Linked DNA regions of Homo sapiens: all the other regions are linked to region 3. Evidence: promoter capture Hi-C in human tissues and cell types (Jung and others, 2019). All regions are on one chromosome and are shown on one strand. The core of a region is centred on a gene start or on the middle of the fragment in contact, and the rest is flanking DNA. Distances in the headings are between cores, read along the strand shown.

The links. The method cuts DNA at HindIII sites, captures the fragments that hold promoters and counts their contacts. A contact is called where the count stands out against the background at its distance.
Region 1: a fragment that was not itself captured here is called in contact with the fragment with the promoter of SPRY2 in region 3 in 1 of the 25 tissues and cell types used here (dorsolateral prefrontal cortex).
Region 2: a contact is called between a fragment that was not itself captured here and the fragment with the promoter of SPRY2 in region 3, in 1 of the 25 tissues and cell types used here (lymphoblastoid cells).

The regions. Positions count from the first base shown.
Region 1 is chr13:79,595,824-79,600,581 of GRCh38, forward strand. No RefSeq gene overlaps it. Among named protein-coding and RNA genes, the nearest start is that of LINC01068, 31 kb to the left of the region's middle. The HindIII fragment of the contact is 7,169 bases long and covers 1-4,758 here.
Region 2 is chr13:79,532,421-79,537,449 of GRCh38, forward strand. It overlaps NDFIP2 (Nedd4 family interacting protein 2), which reads left to right. Exons shown (of 8, transcript NM_019080.3): 3 at 903-1,036. Among named protein-coding and RNA genes, the nearest start is that of LINC01068, 32 kb to the right of the region's middle. The HindIII fragment of the contact is 7,080 bases long and covers 1-5,029 here.
Region 3 is chr13:80,338,129-80,342,930 of GRCh38, forward strand. It overlaps SPRY2 (sprouty RTK signaling antagonist 2), which reads right to left and starts at 2,998. Exons shown (of 2, transcript NM_005842.4): 1 at 2,494-2,998. RefSeq lists an enhancer at 802-851 and silencers at 2,946-3,135, 3,366-3,415. The HindIII fragment of the contact is 11,668 bases long and covers 1-4,802 here.

The sequences.
Region 1 (4,758 bases), core at 1,655-4,154, 740 kb before region 3:
ATTCACATATCTCTGTTGACCTTGATCTGCTAGAAACTCCCTCCTTTTTATCTCTGTTCCATACTGGGGAGGTTTTGTCCCACATTAACAATGGTTCTTTTGTACATCAAAGCGCACCCCCCCTCAATATCCCAAGTTTTAATTTTCCTTGCATGCATAATATGTATCTCTCTTCTGTTCACTGTCTGTTACTTCTTACCTATGTTTAATTGATGGATAATGGAATTTTCTACTCATTTTGCAAAAGAAAAGCACTTAAAATTAACCTTTTAGTATCTGAATAAAAAAGACTGCAGTTTTGTGAATAAAAATGTTCACAGAAATGATTTTTCCTTCTCTTTTACAAATTTAAAAAGTACAGACTAGACACTTAAGCAGAAATCTAGTCTCATATACTTCCATTTTCCTAGCATCTTTCAAATAACAGTATTTATTTGTCTTGGAAAACAAAAGTTTTAACCAAACTGTAATATCCCTATTTTGGATGGAGTATTAAAAAATTGTATATATTATACACACAATTTTTCTATGAGTAACAATAAAGACATTGAATAAAGGTTTGTGGGCAATAACTGAGTTAAATTCAGTGAATCAATTCTGCCGTACGTTTTAGGAAACTTCACTGAAAGGCACTTGCAGAAAGGCAAACAAACAAAATCAACAACAAAATCTAAAAATTAAAACCTCATAACCTAGGAATCATTTTGTAACATGTGTCTTCCCTATTCTCAACAAGACATCTTAAATGTAAAGCATCCCCCTTTGGTTACGTTTACGTTCAATTAGCTTATTTTTTTTTGTAATCAGTGAATACTAATCTGGTATTTAGTAGTTCCATGTAAAATACTTGTAACTCAGTTTTCCAGCAATTACTGTAGTGGCACCAGTTGGTAAATAAAAGCTTTTTAAAACTTCTCTCATGGAGTCTGATTCAGAGTGTTCGAGCAGCCTCTTGTTTTTACTTGAATTCAAATCTTCATTTAATGTATTTATTGTTCTGGTATATTACTTCTGTGAGAAGGTAGCTCATAGCTATTATTGATGGCAAGGTGTGTAATGAGAATTAGCTACCTTACGTGGTTTTGAATTATCCAAATTTTCAAACTTTAGTGTGTATAAATGTCACCTGGGCAGCTATTTAAAAGTGCAGATTCTTGAGTTTTCCCCATTTTGAGAAATGCTGACTTTGTGGATCTGGGGGTAAGGACCCAAGTATGTGTTTTAAGAAAGCAGCCCTGTTGATTCCAATGTGCTTGACTACAGACCACACTTTGAGAAGCACTGTTCTAAAATATGATGGAGCCAAGAGCTTAGTTCTATTGCTGATGGGCTTAGAATAGGAAGGTTTGAAGGATGCAGTGGAACTGCTTCCTCAATGCATAAAGTTGAATCTAGAAACAAAAATGTATAAACTATATAAACTAAGAAGAAGAAATACTTCACAGACTTGGCTTTTAATACTTTGCCAAAAGCAGGAAGAGGGAACTCTTGAATAAATTGATTTAGAAAGTGATATGGAGTAATGAGTCTTGTTGGATGTAGGACTGATAGGTTATTTTCTTCTTTACCTCAACTGTGCTGATTTAAAATGAGCTGGGCCCCATGATTACTCATGCAAATAAATAGAACAGGCTAAAATTGCTCCATGGGACTGAAATTATTCACCCAACAATTTGTACTTGTTTTTGTTTCTTTAAGTCTTCCCATAATTGTGCTACAGGGATACTTTATAAATGAAATGTTTCAAATCAGTTTTTAAACAGTTTTTAAATTTCTCCATGATAAATTGCTCATTTCCCCAGATAAATAGGTATGGGGATATTCATAGTCTGCATTAACATAGTTAGTGTAGAAAGTACTTTTAAAAATTAGGTCATATAGTTAATTGTTTCTATCTACATTTGTCTTTAGTTAATTAAGTGAGAAAATACGTGTGAAAGGACCTAACGGAATCTGGTACATGTTAAATACTTGTATCCAATTGCCCATTTAACATCTTCTCTTGCGTACCTTGCAGCATGTCAAACTCAACATAAGCTATATTGAACCATCTTTTCTGTCTCTTTTGTAAACCACCCAGTTATTCAAGCCAGAACCTTTGTTTCATCTTTTAACATCTCCTTGTTCATCTCCCCTCCAAATTCTGTTGACTTTGTAAATATGTCTTAAACCACACACTTCATTCATTCACTGCTTTTGGAATAAAGCAGTGAACCAAACAGTTTTGTCTCATACAAAGTTTTTAGGTAGGTTATGAGTGATCCTCCTCATGTCCCAAGAGCTTGGTACCTATAAAGAACAGAAAGGGTGAGTGTGCAAGAGGAACGGGGCCAGAACACAAAGAGCTCTTTAGGCCATGTTAAGAATTCTGAAATTTTATCCTAAGTACAATGGGAGAGGCTTGAAGAGTTTTGATTATGGGAGTGACACGATCAGATCTATGTTTTACAAAAATTGCTCCCTTCTATGTCTCTCCAACCCCATTTATCATAATACGAAGCCTGATCACAACATCTGACCTCAGGAGTATTACATCTGGTCTCCTTGCCTTATTCCTTTCCCAAACACATACTCCACATTGCAACCAGACAAAGGAAACAGAACAAACAAAACCCCTAGAAATCTGATTACATACTCTCCTGTTTCAAATCTTTTAATGACTTCCCAATGCCCTTAGGATAAAATCCAAATCCCTTGATAGGGTTCTGAGGCTTATGGTTAATGTTGACCTTTCTAGCCTCTTCACTCAACACTTTCCCTCTCTCACACTCCAGGTACACTGAAGTTCTTTCAGTTACCCTAACGAACTGTGGTCTCTGTCACTCAGACCTTGCTGTTCTCCATGCCTGGGCACCAACCCTGTCTAGCTCTGTTTGGGCTGGCAAATTTGCTAAGCTTCACTTGGCTCGAAGTGATTTTTTCTAACCCTTGACTATGTGAGGTCCCTGCAAATAATCTTTTCCAGTTGCAACATTGATTACATTTCTGCTAGACTTAAGCTCTACCAATGTCCTGTCCTGGTCATTTCTTCAACCACAGATCCTTGCACAGTGCCTGCCACCTGGCAGGTTCTCAGTACACATCTGCCTAATGAATGATTGAACAGTACCTATTAGCTTTCTTCTAAAGAGGTCCTTGGGAAAAGGAATACTTTTGTTCATAATGACACATCTGTTTTGAGTTTATATGACAAATATCAGTAGAGTTGAAAATAAAGGTAACTGAGTTAAAATTTAGACAGGGATGTGGGATCTGATAGATGAGGCAAATGAGAAAGGACAGACAAATGGAAAGTTATGTCTATTCTAAATGAGTGATACTAATTGTTATACACAATTTTATCGGTTGTATAAGGTTTCACTTATTCCTTTCACAATCATAATATTTGAAAAATGTTTTATATTTTATAAAATGCTTTTTATACATATGATCCTTGTATCTTAACAACCCTATACTATTATTATCCTACTATAAATTAGAAAATTGAGGCCTAGCAATTGTGTCTGGAATTGGTAGGTTCTTGGTCTCACTGACTTCAAGAATGAAGCCGCAGACCCTGGCAGTGAGTGTTACAGTTCTTAAAGGCGGCGTGTCGGAGTTTGCTCCTTCTGATGTTCAGATGTGTTTGGAGTTTCTTCCTTCTGGTGGGTTCGTGGTCTCGCTGGCTCAGGAGTGAAGCTGCAGACCTTCGCGGTGAGTGTTACAGCTCTTAAGGTGGCGCAACTGGAGTTGTTCGTTCCTCCCGGTGGGCTCGTGATCTCGCTGGCTTCAGGAGTGAAGCTGCAGACCTTCACGGTGAGTGTTACAGAGTGAGCAGCAGCGAGATTTATTGCAAAGAGCTAAAGAACAAAACTTCCACAGTGTGGAAAGGGACCCGAGCGAGTTGCCACTGCTGGTTCGGGCAGCCTGCTCTTATTCTTATCTGGCCCCACCCATGTCCTGCTGATTGGTAGAGCCCAGTGGTTTGTTTTGACAGGGTGCTGATTGGTGCGTTTACAATCCCTGAGCTAGACACAAAGGTTCTCCACGTCCCCACCAGATTAGTTAGCTACAGAGTATTGACACAAAGGTTCTCCAAGGCCCCACCAGAGTAGCTAGATACAGAGTGTCGATGGGTGCATTCACAAACCCTGAGCTAGACACAGGGTGCTGATTGGTGTGTTTACAAACCTTGAGCTAGAGACAGAGTGCCAATTGGTGTATTTACAATCCCTGAGCTAGACATAAAGGTTCTCCAAGGCCCCACCAGACTCAGGAGCCCAGCTGGCTTCACCCAGTAGATCCCGCACTGGGGCTGCAGGTGGAGCTGCCTGCCAGTCCCGTGCCATGCGCCTGCACTCCTCAGCCGTTGGGTTGTCGATGGGACTGGGCGCAGTGGAGCAGGGGATGGCGCTCGTCGAGGAGGCTCGGGCCGCACAGGAGCCCACGGAGAGGGTGGGAGGCTCAGGCATGGCGGGCTGCAGTTCCCGAGCCCTGCCCCGTGGGAAAGCAGCTAAGGCCCAGCGAGAAATTGAGCGCAGCGCCGGTGGGCTGGCACTGCTGGGAGACCCAGTACACCTTCTGCAGCCGCCAGCCCGGGTGCTAAGCCCCTCATTGCCCAGGGCCGGCAGGGCCGGCCGGCTGCTCCGAGTGCGGGGCCCGCCAAGCCCACGCCCACCCGGAACTCCAGCTGGCCCGCAAGCGCAGCGCGCAGCTCAGGTTCCCGCTCGCTCCTCTCCCTCCACACCTCCCTGCAAGCTGAGGGAGCGGGCTCCGGCC
Region 2 (5,029 bases), core at 1,062-3,561, 810 kb before region 3:
TGTGTGTGTCAGTGACTCTAGCATAAGTCTAATGAGTTGATTGACCTGTATAGCACTTTACTTTATTACTTATGTTGTAATAAGTGATGGGTTTTATTTTTAAAATAAGCAGTCTGTATTTTCTATTGTAATGTATTTCTGGAGATTATATTTCAAAAATTGGGGTGAGAAATACTTATAAAAGGAAATCTAAAGAACTAGCTGGATAAAGGAAAAATGGGAAGAGAAAGGGACAAGAGTGGAAAAGTAAAACTTCAATCTTTTAGCAAAGGGAAATACTGAATTTGCTTAAGAGATTAGAGCCGTTGCTGAAATCAAGATGTGTAAAAAAATTACCCCTTGTATGTTATCGGAGCAAAGTATTTGGGGTCAGGAGCTTCCTGTGTCTGCCACTTAAATGTTTAATATTGTGCAAGTAACTTAACTTTCCTGAACCTCAGAGATGCTAAGATCAATGTATACAGAAGTGGTATATGAAATGGTTAGTATTATGTAAATGTTTGTTATTATTACTTTTTCTTTTTGCTTTTTTGGCTGTGAGATAGTGGGCAAGTAAACTAAGTTCTTTGTGCATACTAATAAGCACATAGAGAATACTCATATATTATGAGATTCTTACTTCTCTTGTCTGGCACTCTTTTTCAGAATTTCATTCTAGAGGTTCTTGTTTAGTGTATTAGCCTTTAAACGGTATTTATCCATTCTTTCTCTTTATAATAAATTTGGACTAAAGTAAGATATATGATTGTAATAGTAATTTATATATTTTATAGCTTATAACATAGGCCTATAATAGCAATAGTAGTCCTGTATTGGTGGCCAGTTGTAAATTATTAAGTCATGGCTATGGCTACAAAATTAAATAGATTTTATTGGTTATTCTTTTTGAATTCTTTCTTCAGATACAGAAGTTTACGGTGAGTTTTATCCCGTGCCACCTCCCTATAGCGTTGCTACCTCTCTTCCTACATACGATGAAGCTGAGAAGGCTAAAGCTGCTGCAATGGCAGCTGCAGCAGCAGAAACATCTCAAAGAGTAAGAAAATTTCATCATTTCTTTTGATAAAATTATTTTCGTTAATTGATATATACATTTAGTAATACTAAAAACAGTTCTTTGTGTGTAAGTGTGTATGTAGATTTTTTTTGAGCATTATGGGTTTAAACTGCACAGGTCTACTTGTATGCAGATTGTTTTAAATAAATATATTGGAAAAATATTTTGGAGATCTGCAGCAATTTGAAAAAACTTGGGACAAATTGCATAGCCTAGAAATATCAAAAAAATTAAGAAAAGGCCTGTAATGAATGTATAAAATACATGTAAATAGTAGTTTATGTATTATCGACTGTTTATGTTATCAGTAAGGCTTCTAGTTAACAATAGGCTGTGAGTCGTTAAGTTTTGGGGAAGTCAGAGTTATACTCAAATTTTCTACCGCATGCAGGTGGGTCGGTGTCCCTAACCCGTGTATTGTTGAAGGGTTACTGTATTTGTTCTACTGTTGCTTATGTGTGTGGTCACTTTTTGTTGAAATTGGCATTCTCCTAGTTAAATTCACCTTCTTTATCCCTTGACTTCCTCTTTTCTATTGCTCTTCCCCGCTTATCCCTTCCTAAATTTTGATTTCAGGCCCCTCATGTGTTAGCCTTCACTTCGCATCCTAACTCACTCACTCTGGTTACCACCACTTGGAAAGTTCTTCTCTTTGCCTGGACCTCAAGTCCACTGACCTCTTTGCTGTCCATGTACTTATTTATCTTCTTACATAGTTTGAATTCCATGGCCTATCATTTTAATTGTGAATCATCTTTTTTTCTATTTATGTTTCTATATTAGCATAGCCAGTTTAGTGACTGTGAAAGAACTCAAGGTAGCCAAAAAACACAGAGAAATGTTACAAGGCCTTCAAATTATTTTTGTCAGCTGTTTTTTTTTTTTTTTTTTTTTTTGATAACATTCTACTCTAGAATTTTGGAATGATGATCAAGCATTCTGTCTTCCTCATCTACATGTTTTAGTAATGGAGTTAATGAGATACATGTGTATTACTCTTTGCTCTGGTAAATGGAGTGGCTGTCTCAGTAATGGAGAGTCAGTGAGATACATACACATCTACTATTCTGCAGCCAGGTAAGAGGCAGAAATTATTTACATTTTAGTGTGGCTGCAAGGAGGGCTAGAATTTTTTGCCTTTTTTTTCTTGCTTCAGACTTGAGAGATGCCGTTTCAGATCCCTGGATTCACCCCATTTTGTTCGGGAAAAAGACAAAAAAATCAATTCACCCAGGAAAGCTAGAATTAGGTGAGGAGTCAAGGGAGAGAGATGTGCTTCCATGTATGGCATTCTCCTCTAGCTGCTATGAGGTCAGAGCCCAGCAAGCAGATCCTCTGAGAGAAGAGCATGTGCCCTGAATGTGTTTCTTTGATCAGCAATAACCCTATTTATGCCTGCTCCTACTACCCTCTTCCAGCACACACAGGGTTAAACGTCAACATAAATAGCTTTGGACACAGTTATGAAGGTAGATAAAGACAGTAAACTCCGAATTTATTTTTTATGCCTTTTCCTTCACAGAGGAGGAAAGTAAGTCTCTTAACACAGTGGCATAATATAGCTGAGTCAATAAGAATTTTTGTTGCTTTGAGGGGAACATCACAGAGGAGGAGGATAGATCTAAATAGGGTATTTTTGTCTAAATAAGTTCTCGGTTACTTAGAACACATATATTTGTAAATGAACATGCACATCTCTCAGTGAAGTAGATTGATTCCTCTCTAGCTATGAAAGTCCCAATAACTCCTTTTCTCAGGGGGTGTTTGCCCAGAGACCTTAAGAAGTATTATGGACCGTAGATCATTTACTGCCCTAACTTCCATACAATAGGATAGAATTCTAAAGACAAGGTAGGAAGCATTAAGTCTTGGTAAGTGTGCTTTGAGAAAAGTTGATTTTACCCCTTTTGAAGAGAAAAGTCTGAAGTATTACTGTTCCATTCCCTCATTGTCATCATTTCCAGCACCCTGTTTTAGAAAGTAAATGTAATCCTCAGCCAGAATTGGAACATGTCCATAAAGAAAAGCTCCCTGTTTTTACCTGCTTCTGATATCATTGTAACCCCAGCTTGTGAGCATTGTGGAAAATTTCATAGACAGCAAAGTATTAATAGAATTGTGTACAAGAGACTAACTTAGGTCTTGTAAAAAATCTTATAAATTTACCAGTGCTTCCTAACCCGGTGCTTCAGCACCCTCTTTGTGCAGAGTATGAATGTTTGCATATGAGTCTCCATTACCTGATTGAGATGAAAAATTGGTCAATGCTTGAAAATTGCTAGGAGAGTAGATTTTAAGCGTTCTTGCACAAAAAAAATATTTGAGGTACTGTACATGGTAATTAGCTCAATTTAGCCACTCCACAATGTATACACATTTTAAAACATCATGTAATACATCATAAATATATACAGTTTTTGTCAATTACAAACAAAATTTAAAAATTGAAAAAAAGTCTCATCAAATTAGCATTTGAGTACATTCAGTTGTAAATGAGTCTCAGCTGGGTGAGTTGAAAGCTTGTTTCCTAAATCAACTCTCACTGGGAGAATATAGATAGTCAAGAGACTTTAAAACTACTGTTTTTACTATTTCCTATTTCTGATGTGTAGAATTGCACGTATGTTATGGAATGGTTAAGTAGATTTCTGAAAATGACAACTCATTGTTAATATTTCTATGAAAAATGCTAATTCCAAACTATTAATTTTATAAGATGTTTAGAACATGGCTTGTTCTTCAGGTAGACTCATTTCATCTTATAATGGGTAGGGCTCTTTTTTTGTAACTTGTTTTAAATTGTTGCAGTAACTTGTCTTTTGACTAGATAAATCATGAGCAACACCAGGACAGAGATCTTGCATTTACATTCCCAGTACCTAGTTATTTATCAGGCACATTTTTGTTGTTTAGTCAATGACAGTTGATTAAGTTAATGAATGCTTTCTTTGTGTTAGCCAATGTGGGAAAATAGAAAGAGGAAAACACCACAGGTGTTCTGTTACAGCTCTCTATTTTAAAATATTTTGATGTCTTTACCAATTTCAGGATTCACAAATTAATGTTTAATGTAGTTGAAATTATTGCCTAGATACCATTTTATTTTTTAAACATCTTATATAAATATTTCCCTGTTACTTAATAGTTAAATTCCCTGTAATCAATATGCTATTGAAACTTAGTGGCCATTCCTCTAGAGTGAACAATTATTTTCAAATGTTTGTGTTTCGATTTTTTCTATTAATATTATAAAAGACATCTTTGGGCATATTGCAGTGACTCACTCCTGTAATCTCAGCACTTTGGGAGGCTGAGGCAAGCAGGTTGCTTGAGCTCAGGAGTTTGAGACCAGCCTGGGCAACACAGCGAGACCTTATTTCCACTAAAAAGAAAAAAAAAAATCAGCTAGGTGTGGTGGCATGCACCTGTAGTTCCAGCAACTTGGAAGGCTGAAGTGGGAAGATCACTTGAGCCCAGGAGATTGAGGCTGTAGTGATCCCGGATGAAGACTGCAGTGAGCCATGATTGTGCCACTGCACTCCAGCCTGGGTGAGAGTGAGATCTTGTCTTAATTTTTTTTTTTTTCCTAAATGATGACTTTTGATAAAATTTCTGTATTGATTTTTTGGTGGTGGTTGTTTTGTTTTTGAGGCGCAGTCTCACTCTGTCTCCTAGGCTGGAATGCAGTAGTGCAATCTCAGTTCAGTGCAACCTCCGCCTCCCCAGTTCAAATGATTCTCCTGCCTTAGCCTCTTGAGTAGCTGGGACTACAGGAGCACGCCACCACATCTGGTTAATTTGTTTTTGTATTTTTAGTAGAGATGGGTTTCGCCATGTTGGTCAGGCTAGTCTTGAACTCCTGACTTCAAGTGATCCACCCACCTCGGCCTCCCAAAGTGCTGGGATTACAGGCATGAGCCACTGTACCTGGCCTGGACTGATGTTTTAAAATACACAGTATGAAATATATTT
Region 3 (4,802 bases), core at 1,748-4,247:
AATTTGAAATAGGTTTCCATTTGTCATAGTCATTTTTGCCTTAAGCGTTAATAATGCAACCTAGAAGATTCTTTCTTGGTTCTTAATTTTTACTTTTACATCAAACACTTTAACTGTGACGTATACGGCATTCTGTAACTTTTTCAAACCAGGTAGAATGAATATGGCATGCAAAAAAGTAAATACCCAAATTCTACAACAATCATGCCATTTTTTATTAATTGTATAGTAGCACAAAGTTATAGAACTAAAAGCAAATCAAATCCTATTAGGTGCCAGAAACACATTAAAGCAAACTTAACAAGAAGAAGACATGAATTTATTTTCAACTTCTCAACAACTTAAGAATTAACTATTTTACAGTCTGATAGCCTAGAACACCACCTTAGATTCTGCAGCTAAAAGGTTGTTCTCCCTGCTAATTGAGAACACAAACGAAGTGATAATAACCAGAAAAGCGTTTTAAAAATTCAAATGTCACATTTCGTATCTAGCATTCTGTCAAGGAATTCCTTAAACTGCAGTCCTTCTTCAATTTCAAAACGATCACCCCCTTTCCCAAGCCTATATGACAATAAAAAGTATAAAACAGGCAAAAGTGGACCTTTATCCGATCTCCGCTCTTTAGAATAGAGGCCACAGCGAACAAGGCAGGTGACAAACGTCTCCCAATTCGGAGCAAGGCAGTGCTGGAAACCGGATCTCCTCACCTCCAAAAGAATGGCAGAAGACAACGCTGCTCTTTGCTTTCACTTAGTTTATCGCCTCTCTGTGCCCCAACACCGTCCCCAGCAGGTGGGACACAGCCGATCCCCAGGGGAGTTTCTCCAGGCGGACTGACGCTGTCCATGGGCCAGGCTGCCCCCCTGCTTACGATCCCCAGACTCAGACAGGCGGGGGCCGCGGGCGCCTCCGAAGGGTACGTGTCACGAAATGCAGGAGCACACTTCCCCCGCCTCCCTCTCCCCAGCTAAGATCTCCCCCAACTCAAGAGAACTGCCTTCCAGCCCCAAGGAGCCACTCCGCCCCCAGGCAGAGGTCACGCCGCCCACTGCCAGGCTTTCTGCAAAGCCCCTCGGACATCCGGCACAGGTTTCCCACCCCGACACTGCGAGCACGAAAGCCCTGCCTGAGACACGCAGCCAGGACGCACAAGTCCAACCCACGCACACACGGCGACTCCACGCTGCACTGACCGAAGGGGGCATTGCCTGTAATCTGCACACGCCTATCTCCTTTTGGGTCGAGAGAAAAAAAAAAGATATCATATTTCTTAAAGTGAAAGAAAAATGGCTTTTTAAAAAAAGGGCATTTTCCAGGGTCCCACTGCTCACTCCGGGCGCGCAGGACCCAGCTCCCGGAGCTGTAAACTTTCGGTGCAGATTTGCTTGCAGTCAAAGTAGCATCTTTGAAATAAAAGGGGGCTTTTTTGTTTTTATTTTTTAAGTGATTTCTGCCGATCCGATCCCTGGCCTCCTTCTTCAAAGCTGGACTCCCTACCTCCGCCCCTCTTCTCTTTCCCAGTCCCCCCTCCCCTTTGAAAGTGCTTTGAAACCCCCATTAAGAACAGTGTGTGATCAGACTGAGGATTAGGGGAAAAGAACTTCAGCTCTAGGGTGGGGCAAACGGACACAGAAACTGCTTTGTAAAAAACACACAAGAATCCAAATTAAAACACAGCAACAACAACAACAAAAGGAAATAAAAAATTGCCTATTTTGCCACCTACTTTCAGGTAATGGAAAATGATCGCGACCGCTTGATGACTTTCTTCCTGCGCTGGGTCAGCCCGAGCTTCCAAAAATAAAATAAGTGTGACCCAGGCTGACCACGAAGAACGGAAGAGAGAGAGCTGCACTTCCGAACCGCAGAGACCCGGCGCCAGGCAGGGCGACGCTCCCACCCGCTCCGGGCTAGACTGTCCACACGGAGCAGAGGCGGGCACTCCCTCCACCCGGCACCCTGCCTTTTTCTCACCCTGGAAGTCTCCTGCCCCCGAGGCGGGCAACCTGTGTCCCCCAGCCCCACCAGCGCCCCGCCTAGGGACAGCCTCTCCCTGGACTTTGCCTTCCACCAAGAGGAAGAACAGGTTAGAAATGCGGGCGCCTGCAAAGGCAACCTGGAAAATACAAAGTGTTTTTCTCTCCCTCTCCCGCTCTCAGCGCCGAATTCGCGGCCAGTGCACGGCTGGGAGCAGACTTCAGGCTAGCTGTCCTCCGTCCCAACCCCCTAGAGCGCGGGCGCGCGGGGTCGCCTGTCGGGGACACTGCACGGGGTGCATACAGAAGTCCCCGCAGAGGCAGGCCGAGCCCAAGCCCCGGGCGAGGCAGGTCCGCGGGGAGCGCCCCGGATCCTCGCGAAGACCCTGCGGGATTTGAGAAAGGGAGGCTCGGGGAGAGACGGACCCAACTCCTGGTCCGGCTGCACCTACTCCATGTTGCCCACAACGCGCCGGCCGCGGCGCCAGGAGGGGAAGAGCCAAACGTGCCTCACCGTGATCGCGGCTTTGCACCAACCCCTCTCCCTTGGATTCTCTTCTTTCTGCGATGTGCAAATAAATCCAGTCTCGATGCAAACTTTTTTCCTTTCTTTCCAACCTCTGCTTTAGACCAACTTCCGAGCAATCGGCGGGAGAAAAAAAGAGAATTCGGAGCCAGATTCCCCGCTGATGAACACTCCGGGGTTCGGAGCTGGAGACGACTCCCCTTCTACAAGCGCACGCGGAGTATTTCCTCTTTTTTCTCAATGAACAAGAGGCCGAAGCGCCAACGGCAAGTCCCTTTTCCTGGCAGATGAGCGAATGGGAAAAGAAAACGGCCTTACGGAGAACCTAAAGCCAGATCGCCAAGTGGTGCGGCCGGGGCCGCGTCGTAGCGGAGGCGGCGCGGGGGCGCGGGCCGGGCCGGGCCGGGCGGGCGCGGGGGCCTGGGCGCTGCGCGCTCCGCCGGCCCCTCTCCTCCGCTAGCGCTGCGGCGCGCAGCTCTCGGCGGTGCAGACTGGGCGTTGTGGAGGCGAGGCAGCGAGGCCGAGGCGGGGGCGGTGGGTGCGGAGGAGGAGGAAGAGGAGGAGGAGGAGGAGGAGGAGGGTCTGGGGCCCGCCCGGGGGGGGCTCGCCGTTGGCCTGCGCCCTCGCCTTTCCGGAGGAGGCAGGGAGCTCTGCGGCGGCCGCGGCAGCAGTAAATGGCGTCATGTGGATCCGAGGCGGAACAGAGCAGTTGTTGTCCCAGAGGATATATCGCATCCGGTCCCAGCTCATTGGCTCCGCGGGGCTACATTCACTCACACTCCAGCGCCCGCCAGCGCTCCGAGCCGCAGGAGGCATTCAAAAGGGCAACCGCGCCGCCCCGCGCGTCCCCAGGCCGGTCCTGCCGCCCGAGCGCCGTCACGCGGGGCGCCCGCGGGGCCGGGCTGGGCACTGCAGGGTCAGTTTATCTAGTTTCAAGGAAACACTGACCTTAAGGTTTGCCCAGAGGCAATGAGGACGAGCCAGAGGCTCGAGCTGACTTAGGGAACTTTCTCCTTGCCACCAGGAAAGGGGAATGAACATTTAAGACTAATCTGGGCCACGCAGTGTTAGCATGAAAAACAAGTTGCAGGTTTTAAGACTTTATCCAGAATCCATTTCAAGTCTACCTCTCCCCTTTTCTGTTCCCCTTTGCGGAGCGGGTGACGGGGGCTGGGGCGGGGGGAGAAGAAGGGGGAGGGGAAGGGGAGCGGGAAGTGAGGTGGGAGGGCTATTGGTTTATTCTTTGTCTACTGGATTAACCCGATTATACACCAGGCACCAGCACAAACCGCCTCCCCCACCTCCGAGCCTTGTACGGGAGGAACGGAATGCAGATTCGAGTTTCAAGTACCTTCTGCTCTTGCTGGGATTTGCTTTTGATTGTGTCGACTTGTAGTTTTTCCGTTTATTAGAATTTCATTTTTAAGGGGGGTTATCTATGAATGGAGGCTTTTTGAAGAGCTTCCTTACTATTTTGCTTCATGCAGTAGCTAAAGTCTACAGTCTAAGCCTTTTAACTTAATTCATTAATAGACAGGAACAAGATTACTCAGGGCGACAGCATGGGCTTCCGAAATGGGGGGGCGGGGGGGAGGGAAGGGTTGGCTCACTGCAGATTTCCTTCTTCCCTTAACTAAAAGTCATCCTTCATTTCCCACTTTTCTTGCCACCTAGAACATTTCTCAAGATTCTGTTGTCCATGTTGAAGGTGCACTATTCTTTCCCATTTACAAAAAAAAAATAAAGATAGAAAATGCATACATATGCACTGTCCTAGCTGCCGTTCATTTACTAAGAAATGTGCCTTCACGTGGGAGCACCAGTGGAAAATTAAAACTTGCGCATACACACGCCTAATATTGCATTCTGTCGAGCGACTTACAGAATGCTTTTACTTTACAGGGAAGTACCTGCTTGTACGGTCAAAATTCCCGAATAGCACCTGCGATCTTGCCCCATGCGGGGTGTTCTTGAAAGCAGTGTTAGGAAAACATGGTGCTTCACTCGTCCAGCTTTAACCCAATCCATTTGCAGCTACCCTGGAACTAGCTGCCTTCTTCTGAGCTCCTGCTCTAGAATGTCCCCAGCGCGCTCTCTGCCTCGCTGCGGTCTCACCCTGACTTCTCCATGTTTCTCTAGGGCTCTCCTCTTTCTCTAGGGATTTGGAACCAGAGATGGCAAGGGAAGTGGCATGCGTTATTTCCGGGCGCTGGCCTACGTCCCCCGACCCCTAAGGTGAGGGTGGACGAGGCTACAACGGCCTGCTCCCGAGCGTCCCGGGACTGCGGGCGCAAAAC